Regions from separate parts of the Homo sapiens genome. Here region 2 is linked to region 1. The links are contacts of gene promoters, found by promoter capture Hi-C in blood cells and fetal thymus (Javierre and others, 2016). All regions are on one chromosome and are shown on one strand. The core of a region is centred on a gene start or on the middle of the fragment in contact, and the rest is flanking DNA. Distances in the headings are between cores, read along the strand shown.

Region 1 (6,529 bases), core at 1,919-4,418:
TAGGTTAAGAAACATCTAGAAATAAACACTTTTCAGAATGACTAAAGCTGAAAATTAAGTATTTAATATTTCAATTTACTGAACTATAAGAGTTATAGATTTCCTTAATCTTATTAATTTACTGGACAGAGCAGCAGACTTGTAATTTAACTTAGTGATGCTGTGGTTTTTTGAGTATCTAAAGGAAAAGAACATAAATGTTTCAGGATATGACTAAGAAAAATATAGCCTATATTACTTTGTCTAGCCTGTTTTTGTACTGTATGCCAAGCCATTTGAAAATGCTCATTTTTGACTTGAAGTGACTACCAACATTTTCATGAACTTCAAGATACTGGGGAATAACAAAACCAACATAAATGTACACAGCCTTTGTCTGAGTCTGATTACATTTTAGTCAAAAAAACCCTAATTTATTTGGTCCTCTGCATTCTTTGAAGGATGAGGACTTATATCAACACCATACTTAATGTAGCTGTTACCCTAAAAACTTATTACACCTCAAACTAAGTACAATCATACATCTGGCGTACTTGTCATCATTTTACCAAGCAAACCCACACTTCTTACCTTTTCATATTTTTCCTTCAGCTTCGCAGCCTTCTTTTCATAAGGCTGCTTGTCATCTGCAGCAGTGTTATTCCACATCTCTCCCAGTTTCTTCGCAACATCACCAATGGACAGGCCAGGATGTTCTCCTTTGATTTTTGGGCGATACTCAGAGCAGAAGAGGAAGAAGGCCGAACTAAAAAAAAAATTAATTTTAGGATTTTAAGTTAACAGATCACAAAAACAAATACTATCAAGTGTACACTGCATTGCTATTTAAAGCTGCCTGTGAATTTCTGTGATGCATTGGACAGGGTGCAAATACTATAATATACTAAATATCCTTCACAACCAAAGCTTAATTTACAACTATTTAATTTATACTAGCTAGAACCCTAGATGAACATTCTACAATTACACTATTTCAAAGGGATAGTATTTTTCAAGAAATAAAAAGATCAAAAGGAGATACACTGGGCAAAGGAGACCAAATGTCTAATTCAAATGCTCTGGGAACACTCCCACCCAACAGGAATTTTATACTATTTAAATATAACCAATATGAACAAGTATTAGCTAAGAAACTTTGATTGTACATTTACACTCTAAACTGACAAAGTAGCTTGCTAAATTTCTCTCAGATTCTACTGTAAAACGTGTCTGGGAAGTAAAAACAGGCAAGATACTCACGGAGGCCTCTTGGGTGCATTGGGATCCTTGAACTTCTTTTTTGTCTCCCCTTTGGGAGGGATATAGGTTTTCATTTCTCTTTCATAACGGGCCTTGTCCGCTTTTGCCATATCTTCAAATTTTCCTTTCTCTTTAGCAGACATGGTCTACAAAATAATTATTTGTAAGTTTAAGTTGTAACATTTAAGTAAATTATCCTCAAAACCAATGTCTTTTGCTATGTAATAGCGTCCCACTACGAGAATGCCAACTAGGCTTTTTTTTGCATCCTCAATTGGAAACTGTCTTTTAATTACCTTGTTAGCATGTTTTAAGCCCTCTTACCTTCCACCTCTCTGAGCACTTCTTAGAAAACTCTGAGAAGTTGACTGAAGCATCTGGGTGCTTCTTCTTATGCTCCTCCCGACAAGTTTGCACAAAAAATGCATATGATGACATTTTGCCTCTCGGCTTCTTAGGATCTCCTTTGCCCATGTTTAGTTATTTTTCTAAAAAATAAAATAAATATTTGATGTTAGCAATAAAATTATGACATATAAGACCTTAAAGTACTTAGTAAGGGAATGAAAACCAAAGTACTGGTTATTTAACACAGTAGCGACATCAACCTCCGTAAAATCAGACAAGAATATGGCCGAGAGATTAAATTCCTTGAAGGGGCTATGCCAAGCAAACAAAACAAAACAAAAACAGTCCTTCAGGGCGATCTCAAAAAGTCTAGACACAAAGATATACCCATACAGTATTCCCTATCTATCCGCCCGAGTCTGCTCTGAATGAGTATCTAACTGGTCACTTAAACGATTTTAAAATCTAGAACACCATTTTAAACCAACCAAACCAAAGGTCAGAAAACATGCTGCCAATTCGTGGCTTTGCACTAGATAGGGAATAAACAAGGGCCTAAGCGAGTCGACTCTTCCTAATTATGGGACCTTAAAAAAAAAAAATCACCGTGCACCGAAAGTTTCAAAAAACACCCTCTTTGCATAAAACTTTGCTCCAAAGAGGGAGCAGCAGCCAGCTCCGGTGCTCGGAACCCGGTTGGGGGGTGGCGGTGCCACCGCGAGGCAGCCTCGTTTCCTATCGGTTTGGCCCTGAGATGTATTTCTGTTCTGACTAAACACGTCCGGTCTGAAGTTTCTCCGAGTAAACAAGGATGAGGGACAAAAGCCACTCCTGCTCGTGGCTCGGTGGCCCCCTCCCCCAACTCGGGAAGTATTTTTTGGAGCCGTGAAAGTTGGGGTGACTCCTGCGCGGGGCGAGCCCCCCGCCCCTAGAACTTCGCCGGTGGCCGCGCGGCCGAGGAGAGAGGACGCGGCCCGGCTCCCAGGCCCGAGGCCGCCACGTGCGCCCGGCAGGCCCTGCAGGCCCGCGCCGCCGCCGCCCCCATTTTGTCAGGCTCGGCGCAGGGAGAAGCCCCGCTCGAAATGGGGGCTGGCTCCGCCCGCGGCCGCCGGGGCCGGCGCGCACGGAATGGCCGCTGCGCGTCTTCTCCGCCTGCGCCGCCGCCGCCGCGAGGGCGAGCGCGAGCGAGAATATGGCTCCTTCCCTTTGTGTGTGTGTGTGTGTGTGTGTGTGTATGAGAGAGTGTGTGAGTGCGAGGGTGCGGGCGCGGCGGCGGCGGCGGGCGGGGTGCGAGCCGCGCTCTGGCGCACACACTCGGCCATTACGGCCGGGGGAGGGGCGGGGGGCGCGCGGCCGGGCCCTCCCCTCCGCGCCGCTCCCCTCCCCCCGCCGCGGTGGGGGCCGCCCGAGGGCCCACCCGCCCGCCACTCCCCGTCTCCCTCCGCGCGGGCCGCGCGCCCCGCCGCCCCCGCACGGAGAACGCGGGGCTGTGAAAAGAGAGAGGAAAAAAAAAGTTGCCTCGGAACTGCTGCGCCCAGCTCCCCCGCCCGCCCGCCTTGTTTTCTCTCCAGCCAGCAGCGCCGGGCCCGAGTCAGCCATGTTCCAGCGAGCGCAGCGGCGCCGCTCCCCCCGCCGCCCGGCCGCCGCCGCCGCCGCGACCGGGCCGAGGCCGGCCGGGCCCGCACTGCCGCCCCCAGGCCCCCGCGCCGCCCTCGCCCGCCGCGGCGCCCCGCCCGCCCCGCCGCCCGCCCGGCTGGCCGCGCTCCCCGCCAGCGCCCGGCTCGCTGCGGCGGCGGCCAATGCAGCCCGGGGAAGCGCCGCCGCTGCCCTCCCGCCGCCGCCGCCGAGCCGCGCCGGCCCCGCCGCCCCGGCCGCGCTCCGCGCACGCCGCCCGCCCGAACGCCCGGCCCGAGGGCCCAAAACACGTTCAAAATTTTTTTAATTAAAAAAAAAATTTTTTTTTTTGCGCCAGTCAGCGCGGACGCCGCCGGGGGTGGAAACTCGCGGGGCGCGGGGCTCCCGGCGCCTCAGGCTGCCTGAGGGCCGGGGCACCGGCGCGGGGCAGCGTTCCCGGCGCCCGGGCAGAGGCTCGCTCCGTGCGCAGTTCCCCCCACGGTCCCCCCTCATTTGCCTTTGTGTGGATCCTGACCCGCCGGCTCCCGGCCGCGGGGATCCGGCCGCCGCGCGGGCTGGGGAGCTGCCGGAGGCGCTCTCCCCGCCGCGGCGCTGCCCCAGACTCACCCTCAGCGAGGCACAGAGTCGCCCAGTGCCCGTCCGGCTCTCACTTGCCCCGGTGCTGTCTCTATGGAGCTCAATGTACTGCAATGGCTGTGAGAGCGGGAGCCAGACGCAGCCTCCTCACTCTCTCCGCTCTGTAACATTACTCTCCAGCCAGCGCGGCTCCTATTGGCTACCGCCAACTCACGGGGCTCGCTCATTGGCCCGATACCTCCCATTGTCCTGACCAGAGCCCGTTTGCTATTGGCTGTCTCCGGGGACACGTCATCAAGGATTGAAACAGCGCGCAAATCTGAATGTGTGTGTATGCCGGGCAAAGAGGCTGAGGCGGGAGAGGCAGAGGCAGAGGCAGCAGCTGCTACGGGAAAGCAGAGCTCTATGGTGTATGTGTGCATGTGTCTAACCCAAGCCAGCCCCACACCGGAGCGGCCGCCGGAGCGAAAAGGGCCTGACTTTTCCACAAGTGTCTCCAACTCCTCAGGCAAAAGAGACACCCACAGGTCTCCCCCCCCCTTCTTGCCCCACATTCACGCCCAAAGCCGTTGAGATAAGAGGCCCCAGGCTTTTAATGGCCCTTCAAAAGTGAGGGCGACACTATGGGATCATGTCCCCTGAAAACTGGGGTCTCTGCTGGTGCTGAGGGGCGGAAGCCGCCGAGCCTCGAGCCCCTCAAAGGTCTCTGATTGCGTTACACTTTAGGTCTCTGGAAAGGCAGGGCTTCTATAAGAAAGTGACATGATCCAGCCAGCCGGGTTTAAAATACCCCTTTTCTGGGCTCATAAGCCGTCACGTCAGGCTCGCTGAGCAGCTGAAATCTTGAGTCAGTGAGCAGGCATTCAGTTTCACCCTTTTTCTTGGTTTGATCGAGTTTCACAGCATGTCTAGAACTTTTTATTTAAATACAAAGCACTGTCTTAACTTCCTGGAAATCAAATAATTATTCCATGTAATTAAAGAACAGCCACTTGGTTTGATATGGGGTACTCTAGCAGGAAATGTTTGTGAGGCCCTGGTAGAATTAGCAAATTCATTAGAGACCACATTCTAAACTGTTTGGCTATTTTATTTGACTTGGTGTGGATTACTGTTACAATCAAACGAATCCTTGTGATGCTATCTTTCCCTCCCATCACACCACTTAGTGCATCCATGTAACTGCTCTAGGATTACAGGAGTTGTAGGTATATGGTTACCCGAAGGATTAGATGCAGGCAGAGAGTGCATGTGCCCAAATCCACAGGCTGTGGTTTCTCTAACTCACCAAGCTGGCTGGTATTAATAGACATACTTACGTCTGTAGAGAAAATGTGCTGGCTGTAGTGGCCAGTTCTGAAGACTCTACAGTTATATCAGTCCTTTATGAAACTACTATCTATTCCTTTTAGCCTGAGCAGACCACGCCCCTATTCAGTTATAACAGACTTCCCTTTTTTTTCACTCTCTAATGGTATTTTGTACACTTCTAAATCCAACAACCAATTCCTCCAAATGTAACAGATCAAATTTGGAATAAATCACCTACATCGTGTTAATTTGATTTTTTATATCGCTTATAAGCATCCATAACCTAATTTATTTCCTCAAATGTATTAAACTACTTGAGAGTAAGCTTAGATAATCTTTCCTGTTTTAATGTTGATTTCTTTTTAAAAGAAAATACACTATCGGACTCAGGGATTATAGTCTTGGTGAATGGACAATATATCACACATGCACATGAAAAAGACTATAATATTAAAGAGGATATAAATTGGTATACTGCACATGCAGTGTTTAAAGATAATATATCTAAAGTTAACTTTTATGTTATTATTTTCACACATATTTACTATCCTCTGCTTCCCTCTACTAATCATTCAAATTTTATATTTTTTAAATCTAGATATTTATTTCAATACTGTCTTATCTTCTCAATGTCTCATATTACAAAATATTCATGAGAATGATTAAGATACTTTCAGTGGCATCGATGATATTAAAATTTGACGATTAGTTGAATATGGCACTATCAATATTTTCCAGGAGCAGTGTTGGCTTTGTACTGGCACGGCCATACACTTTACTGGTTGTCTATACCAGCTTGCTCCTGCCAGGGTGCATTTATGGCCACAGGACATCTTGAGAGCAATGGGCCCACACAAGGTTTCTATTTTGACAGGATGATATGGTGAGTAATAGGCACTGGAATTGAATAGACTTGGGTGCAAATCCCAGCTCTGCTACTTACTAGCTGTATGATCTTGGGCATGTTTTTAAACCTCCATGCTTCAATTCTCTCAGCTATAAAATGGAGGGGACCACAGGGTTGTAAAGATTAAACTTTTTTTAATGTTTAAAATTATATAGACCCCTTCAATCCCATAATTTAGAAAACCTCAAGTGCAGTTAACCTTGAGTTTTTCTTCATATTTTAATCTTATATGAAGGCAGTGATTGCAAATCTAGTGAATTTTTTGTTGTTGTTGTTATTGTTGTTGTTTGAGACAGAGTTTTGCTCTTACTGCCCAGGCTGGAGTGCAGCGGTGCAATCTCGGCTCACTGCAACCTACACCTCCTGGTTCAATCGATTCTTCTGCCTCAGCCTCCCGAGTAGCTGGGAATACAGGCATGCGCCACCATGCCCGGCTAATTTTTTATTTTTAGTAGAGACGGGGTTTCACCATGTTGGTCAGGCTGGTCTTGAACTCTTGACCTCAGGTGATCC
Region 2 (6,529 bases), core at 2,235-4,734, 530 kb before region 1:
GGAGACATGCGACTCTTCCTTCCACTTAAACACTTAGAGGACATTGTAGGGTTATTAATTGTTCCAATTTCAATATTATTGTGTCTCAGGGAATAGGGAGGCCCAAGGAAAGGGAGAGAGATGGGGTAATGGCCAATTTGCAGGGCAGTCTGAACACATACATTTATTGATTGAGTTTGCTGTCTTATGTGGGTGCAATTGGTGGCACACCAAAACAATTACAATAGTAACATTAAAGATCACTGATCACAGATCATCAAAACAGATATAATAATAATGTAAAATATTGCGAGAATTACCAAAATGTGACACAGAGTCATGAAGTGAGTGCTATTGTTGGAAAAATGGCCCTGATATACTTGCTTGACACAGGGTTGCTGCAAACCTTCAATGTGTACAAAACACAGTATCTGCAGAGTGCAATACAGCAAAGCACAATAAAATGAGACATGCCCATCATTGCTACTACTCTGAGACAGGCATTATTAGGCACTGTACCTCTGGTATCTCATGGAATACTTTAAATGCTTCTATGAAGTAGGCATAATTACTACCGCTATGGCTGTTTTTCATAGTTGGTCATCCTGCCCCGATCCTTGCTCCTCTGCAGTCCGTTCTCTACACAGTGGCCAGATGGATTCTCCCCCATGCATCGTCTCACTGCACCCTTCTGCTTCGAATTGCCCCATGGCGTTTTAGTTATATAACACCATCACCCCCAAACATAGTAGCTTAAAAAACAAAAATGATTTCTGTCTTTGTTGATGAGGAATTCAGGAAGGACTTGGTCTGGTAGTTCTCCCTGGGAGGTCCCTATCACAATTGCAGTCATGAGTTGGCTAGGCCTGCCATCATTTGACGTCGTGATGGGGCTAGACAGCCTGCTCCTAAGATGGCCCAACCACACACCTGCCTGGGAAGCTGGGACAGGCTGGAGGCTGGAGGTCTCTGTTCTCTCCACACAGGCTTATCCAACAGAGCTGCTGAGTGTAGGGCGTGGAGGTTGGCTTCGCCATGGGAGCAATGCAAGGTGCCAAGATGGACGTGGTATTGCCTTTTATACTCTAGTCTTGGAAGTCACACCCCATCATGTCCACCATAAGCTAGTGGTACAGGAATTTGCAAATATCTGCTTGGGTTTGAGGAGGGAGGACATAGACTGCGCCTCACTATGAAGTCATGTCAATCATCAGTTGTGGCACAGGGTATGTAGTGGGGTTTATATTGGGGTCTGGGGAATATAAAGCCTGTGTCCAGAACCAAAGCACTGTTCTACCCCTACACAGAACACTCTCTATCCAAAGACCCTTTGGTTAGCATTGCTTTTTGCCATTTCGGCCTTGCTAAGGCATGAGAAATGTTGCCACATCCGTTGCATCTGCTACAAAGGCATGCTAGTAATTATCAGTGATAACAGAATGAAAAGAATACAGTTGGTTTTGAGCTTCTAACATATGGTATTGTTGGCTCTTTCTGAGAAGAGAGATCCTGCTTGTGCCCAAGGAATCCCTGAGGATCCCTACGTAGGACCCACTCATCCCACTGCTTTGTCTCTCTACTACAGGGCAGTCTGTGTCCAGCCACTTCTGGGAAGTGGAGTATCTGATTGGTTACCCTGTGTCATAAAAGAGAGGGCATCTGAACTAATCTCTTTATGCAGAGTTTCACAGCACTTCCTCTGGGTCACACCCTCATAGCTCCATTCAGGCAAGGTATAGATTTGAGTAGAAATATCTGTCCTGAGCATCGAGGTACCGCGGTGATGCAAATGTAAGCCCCAGCACAGACAGCATGTCTGTGTTTCTAGTGAGCTGGCAGATGGCTTTTAAAGTCAAGTTACAAGTGTGTCCAGGCACAGGGACAGCTGTGTGAGCAAAGGAACACTTTTGTGCCAGGGAGGGAGAGAGGACCAGCTCTAGGGGGAACTATAGGCTCTGCAGGCTCAGAAAGAGGCAGGTGTGATGAAAACCTTCCAGGAGCACCTCATCACTCCGTTCAGGCCTCCTGACTCATTAGGAGATTCTGGTGACACCCCGCCTCCCTGGCTTCAATCTCTCTAGCTGTAAGCCTGGGGATTGGAAGACTTGGCACAGTCTTTCCTCCCCAAGGGTGCCGTGCTGATGATGTTTGCAGAGTGCATCACACTCCTCTGATAAAAGGTGTCTCCTGAGTACAAAGTATCATTGTCACTATATTCCACAATGTGGCTAAATATAGGTGTGCACCAATCTGCTGAAGAGCAGAGTGTCTCTTCAGCATTTGCCTGGGAGGAGCAAGTGGCCCAGTGGCTGCATAGGATGCAGCAGAAAAGAGCTGGCATGCAGCAGCAGTGTACCTGAGACCAGGGCATGGGGAGAGGGAAAGGCCCTGCATGCCCCCCTGGTGGGCAGCCCCAGCCCACTTGGTGACAGTGAGGCCTGAGTGCAGCAAGGCTGGAGTCATGCTGTGAAAGCCCACAGTAGCAGAGCCCCTGCCAGGAATATAGCAAGGAGATCACAGATCACAGAGTACATTGCACCTGCCCCATGCAGTGGCGGAGCAAGACGCTCAAGGGTCTGGAGTTAAGAGGGACCATTTGAGGTTAAGAGGGAAGGAGTCTCCCTTGTTTTGGTTTTTGTTTTTTGTTTTCCCACACAGTCCCAGAGGGTACTGTGGTGTTCTGACACACTCCCTGTGTCAGAGCTGTTTTTTCATTATGACCAAGACAGAGCAGGTGTGAGAGCTGAGCATCCTCCCCTTGCTGTGCTCCTCTGGTCTCCAAGGCACCCTCCCCATGCGCTGCTTCCTTCCACTTACCGCCCTCGCACGGCACCACATCCTGAGCTCTGCTTGTTCCCTCTTCAGACTGGCAGGTGGTTATAGAGGTGTTTGGGGTGTCAGCTCTGAAATGCTAAAAATAAAACCAGGCTTTCTATCCTGGGATGTCTCATTAGTTTGCTTACAAATGAGTCCCCCTGCAGTTTTTCAGCAATTGGCTAACAAGCTCTAATTTGAGCGTTTGGGCTGGACCTTGGCTCAGTGGGAGCAGACGCGGAGCAGACGCCTTCTCGGAGCTGCCTGTTTGGGGAAGCTGGTCGTTTCCACTCTAGCTCAGCCTCCCAGAACAGGGAAGCTGCAGGAAAGTTGACAAAAGCACAGCAAAGCAGGGAGAGCCTCCTCGGTAGAGAGCAACGACCAGGTGGGTGTGGGTGTGGAGAGCAGTGGGGCCCACCTGGGCAGGTGCGGGGGGATGGGAGGAGGGGCTGAGAGTGCTCTCTAAGTTAAGGTCACGGTGTAGAGGAGAGGACTTGAAAACTTCCTGCAGCAGCTTCGTGGCCCGGTGAAATGTTCTCAGCAGCAAGCATGAAGCTCTGATTTGTAAAAAAATCAATACGGCTTGCATGCCAACTATGCCTTCTCCAATCCTGCATTTGTGATGTCAGAGGTTGTCATTCTGGGCTATGGAGCAAACCTTTCAGGGTTGACCCAGTCCTTCTAGGTCATGTGGAGTGGGCCAGCTTTAATGAACCTGTCTAAAAGGAAGGAAGAGAAAGAGCTCAGCTCCTTAGGGGAACAAGGTGGACCTTGGCAGCTGTCTCACTCCTCACCAGCTCTTCACCTCAGATCTTGTCCTGACTTCCTGGTCCACTAACGGCCTCCTGGATAGAAGAGTCAGGTAATGATCCCTGCCTTTCAATACTCATTGCTCAGTTTCAACAATCATCAACAATTTGCCAATCTCATTTCATCTCTCCTCTTATCTTTTTCCTTTTCTGGAGTATTCAGATCCTCTCACTTTCTGAGTGGAACTAAGAGTCTTCCTCACCTTCATCACCACTATTAGCTTATAAACCTCTTTTAAGGACAGGGATTCACCTCAGCTCAATTATGTTTTGTTACACACGTGGTACCCATCTTCTGTGTTGAGAGATGTTTGAATTATACAGTTTTTAGTGCATTAAGTGTTAGTGTTTGGGATCCAATTTGGCTCACTCTAGATGAGCTATAGAGTCTTCATTTTTTCTCCTCTCCCTTTTTCCTTCTTGAGTTAAAAATCACAGTTACCCAGCCTCCCCATACCTCCCCCCGCACCCTATATTACCACTTGTTTTTCTTTCTTTTTTCTAACCACACCCTGAGGCATTTCACCAGCAACTCTTTATTATCTAACCACAGTTCACCAGCCCAGGAGATGTTCTGAAAATTGACAATGATCATGATATACCCTGGATCCAGAATACTTCTCTATACAATGGGTGTGTATAAAGACAGACAGACCTGCCAGGCTCCATCAGGAAAGCTCTGTGTCTCCTTCACATGTGGAGGGACAGAATATTATCTGGAGATGGAGAATGCTTCTGAGAGCCTCTAGCACAGGGATCCCCAACCCCACAGCCTCGGGCAGGTCCCAGTCCCAGTCTGTGGCCTGTTAGGAACCGGGCCACACAACCGGGGGTGAGCGGTGGGCAAGTGAGCGTTACCACGTGAGCTCTGCCTCCTGTCGGATCAGCCGGTAGCATAAGAGTCTCATAGAAGCGTGAACTCTATTGTGAATTGCGCAAGTGAGGGCTCTAGGTTGGGTGCTTCTTATGAGAATCTAATGCCTGAGGATGAGGCAAAACAGTTTCATTCCAAAATCATCCCCCGGACCCCATCTGTGGAAAAATTGTCTTCCATGAAACCCGTCCCTAATGCCAAAAAATTTGGAGACCACTGCTCTAGTAGGCCTGCCTACTGGGCTTACTTTGTGTATATGAAATTGATAATTATTCCTCGTTTCAGAAATTTAAAATGTTACATTTATATTTCTTTCATATTTCCAACATTGTACCAAAGGTCAGTCCTAGAATGCTTTGTTTTAGCTGTTTTTCTTTCCTTAGGCAGAGAACAAAGATTGGTGGCTTCCTCCTGAGCACACTGGGATGTGGCATTACATCGGGGCTGCTGAGTGCCCTTACCTTCAGCTGCCCAGATGCAGAGGCAGGTGGGTGGGGCCAGGGAGTTTGATGCTTCACCTCCTTAAGTGAGAACTGCATCATGCAAACAGTCAGCTCTCAGCCAGATGGCACCACAAGGTTCTGTGAATTTCTCTCAGCACAACAAGCACATCTGCCAGTTGGGTTCCAATGCTGTTTTCTCTTTTCTTCTCGGCACTAGACACCAGGGCTTTAATTACACAGCCAAACTCAGCCGCAGAACACTCCCCAGTCTCGTCCTGGCTGGGCCCAGGACCTCCCCACCTCTTCAAAAGCCCCAAAATGGAACGATCATGGCCGGTCATCAGGGCCGGCAGGTGCAAAGGTGCTAAGTGGGCTGAGCTGACCCTGTACTCCTCTTGGTTCTCTCTGTAATGATCCCCTCTTCCTCACAGGCCCCCTTTGCCCTGATCTCGCCCTCCCACCTGCTGTCGGAGGGCCCCTCATGGAGATGCTCAGCCAGGCCCAGACCTCAGCGCTCCCTTGGCCTGGCCTTTCCACTGGGCTTCCTCGTGTCCTTAGTGCCCGGGTCCCCAGGGGAAGGCTTGGCCAGAGAGCTGCTTGGAAGCAACAGTTATTACGTAGACAATTGACAGAAATCTGTGTGGTTGTGCGGCCACACTCCTTTGTCAATCCTGCCCAGATATCCTGCTTTCCTCATAACAGCCAGCATTTTTCTGAGTGCTCACTATGTGCCAGGCACTTTACTGTATTAACTCATTTAATCCTACAACAACCTTATGAGGTAGGTGCTGCTGTTAATCACATTTTACAGATGAGAAAACTGAGGCACAGAGAGGTTCAGCCCCTTGCCCCAAATCACCCAGCTAGTAATGAGCAGAGGTGGGATTCATATCTAGGATTCTAGCCTGACTCAAGAGCCAAAAGGCTTTTAAAAGAAAACCTGAAACTACGTACAATTCCATATGACATGGAAAAAATTAAATAAAGTTCTTGGCTCAAAGGGTGGCATTGTGATGCTTTCCTTTTCCCTTTTCATCTTCTCATTTCCACTCTTAAAAAAATTATTTTTCTCACACAGTGACTGTGACAAGAGTAAATATGATAGTGGAGGTTCAGATAATGTGAAAAACCAGTGGAGGAGACAATTTTAGGTGGCTTTGCTGTGTCCTCTTCACCTGACAGAGGTGGGCACCCTTAGGTCTGGTTTATGATCTTGGCCAAGCCTCAAAAAGGGAAGACCAAAACTCCTAGAAGCACCCCGTGGTTATAGAGTTGTTAGGGAAATGCGGTATGCAAAGCCTCTGAAAGGAAAGGATCCAAGCTTAGGGATGTGAGGATCTACTAAAATTGTAAGGGACACATGAATAAGAGGGAGATTGATCTGTGACGATGAGTTGGCAAAAAATGAAAATATGCACAAACTCCCCACCATGGAGGAGGCCTCGTGTGCGGGAAAAGGCATTGTTTCTGCCCTTTGGATGTGTTGAAGGATGCTCTAGAATAGGGAAAGTCATTAAAAACTAAATCACAGAGGAGCATGTGACACAGGGCATAGTGCAAGGGGAGTTTAGAGAGGGTATCAGGCAAATCAGCGAGGTGTAAGGGCAGAA

What was found. The method cuts DNA at HindIII sites, captures the fragments that hold promoters and counts their contacts. A CHiCAGO score of 5 or more calls a contact.
Region 2: a contact is called between the fragment with the promoter of LINC00544 here and a fragment that was not itself captured in region 1, in 3 of 17 cell types (total CD4 T cells, naive CD8 T cells and naive CD4 T cells). The highest score is 5.7, in total CD4 T cells.

What each region holds. Positions count from the first base shown.
Region 1 is chr13:30,461,968-30,468,496 of GRCh38, forward strand. HMGB1 (high mobility group box 1) reads right to left here and starts at 3,969. Exons shown (of 5, transcript NM_002128.7): 1 at 3,829-3,969; 2 at 1,564-1,727; 3 at 1,240-1,385; 4 at 571-745. The coding sequence starts at 1,713. RefSeq lists silencers at 2,393-3,032, 3,632-3,941 and enhancers at 3,377-4,152, 4,153-4,928. The HindIII fragment of the contact is 4,528 bases long and covers 905-5,432 here.
Region 2 is chr13:29,933,047-29,939,575 of GRCh38, forward strand. LINC00544 (long intergenic non-protein coding RNA 544) reads left to right here and starts at 3,485. Exons shown (of 5, transcript NR_033889.1): 1 at 3,485-3,655; 2 at 4,156-4,235; 3 at 4,860-4,963. RefSeq lists enhancers at 1,769-1,828, 2,549-2,668, 2,799-2,918. The HindIII fragment of the contact is 6,836 bases long and covers 1-6,238 here.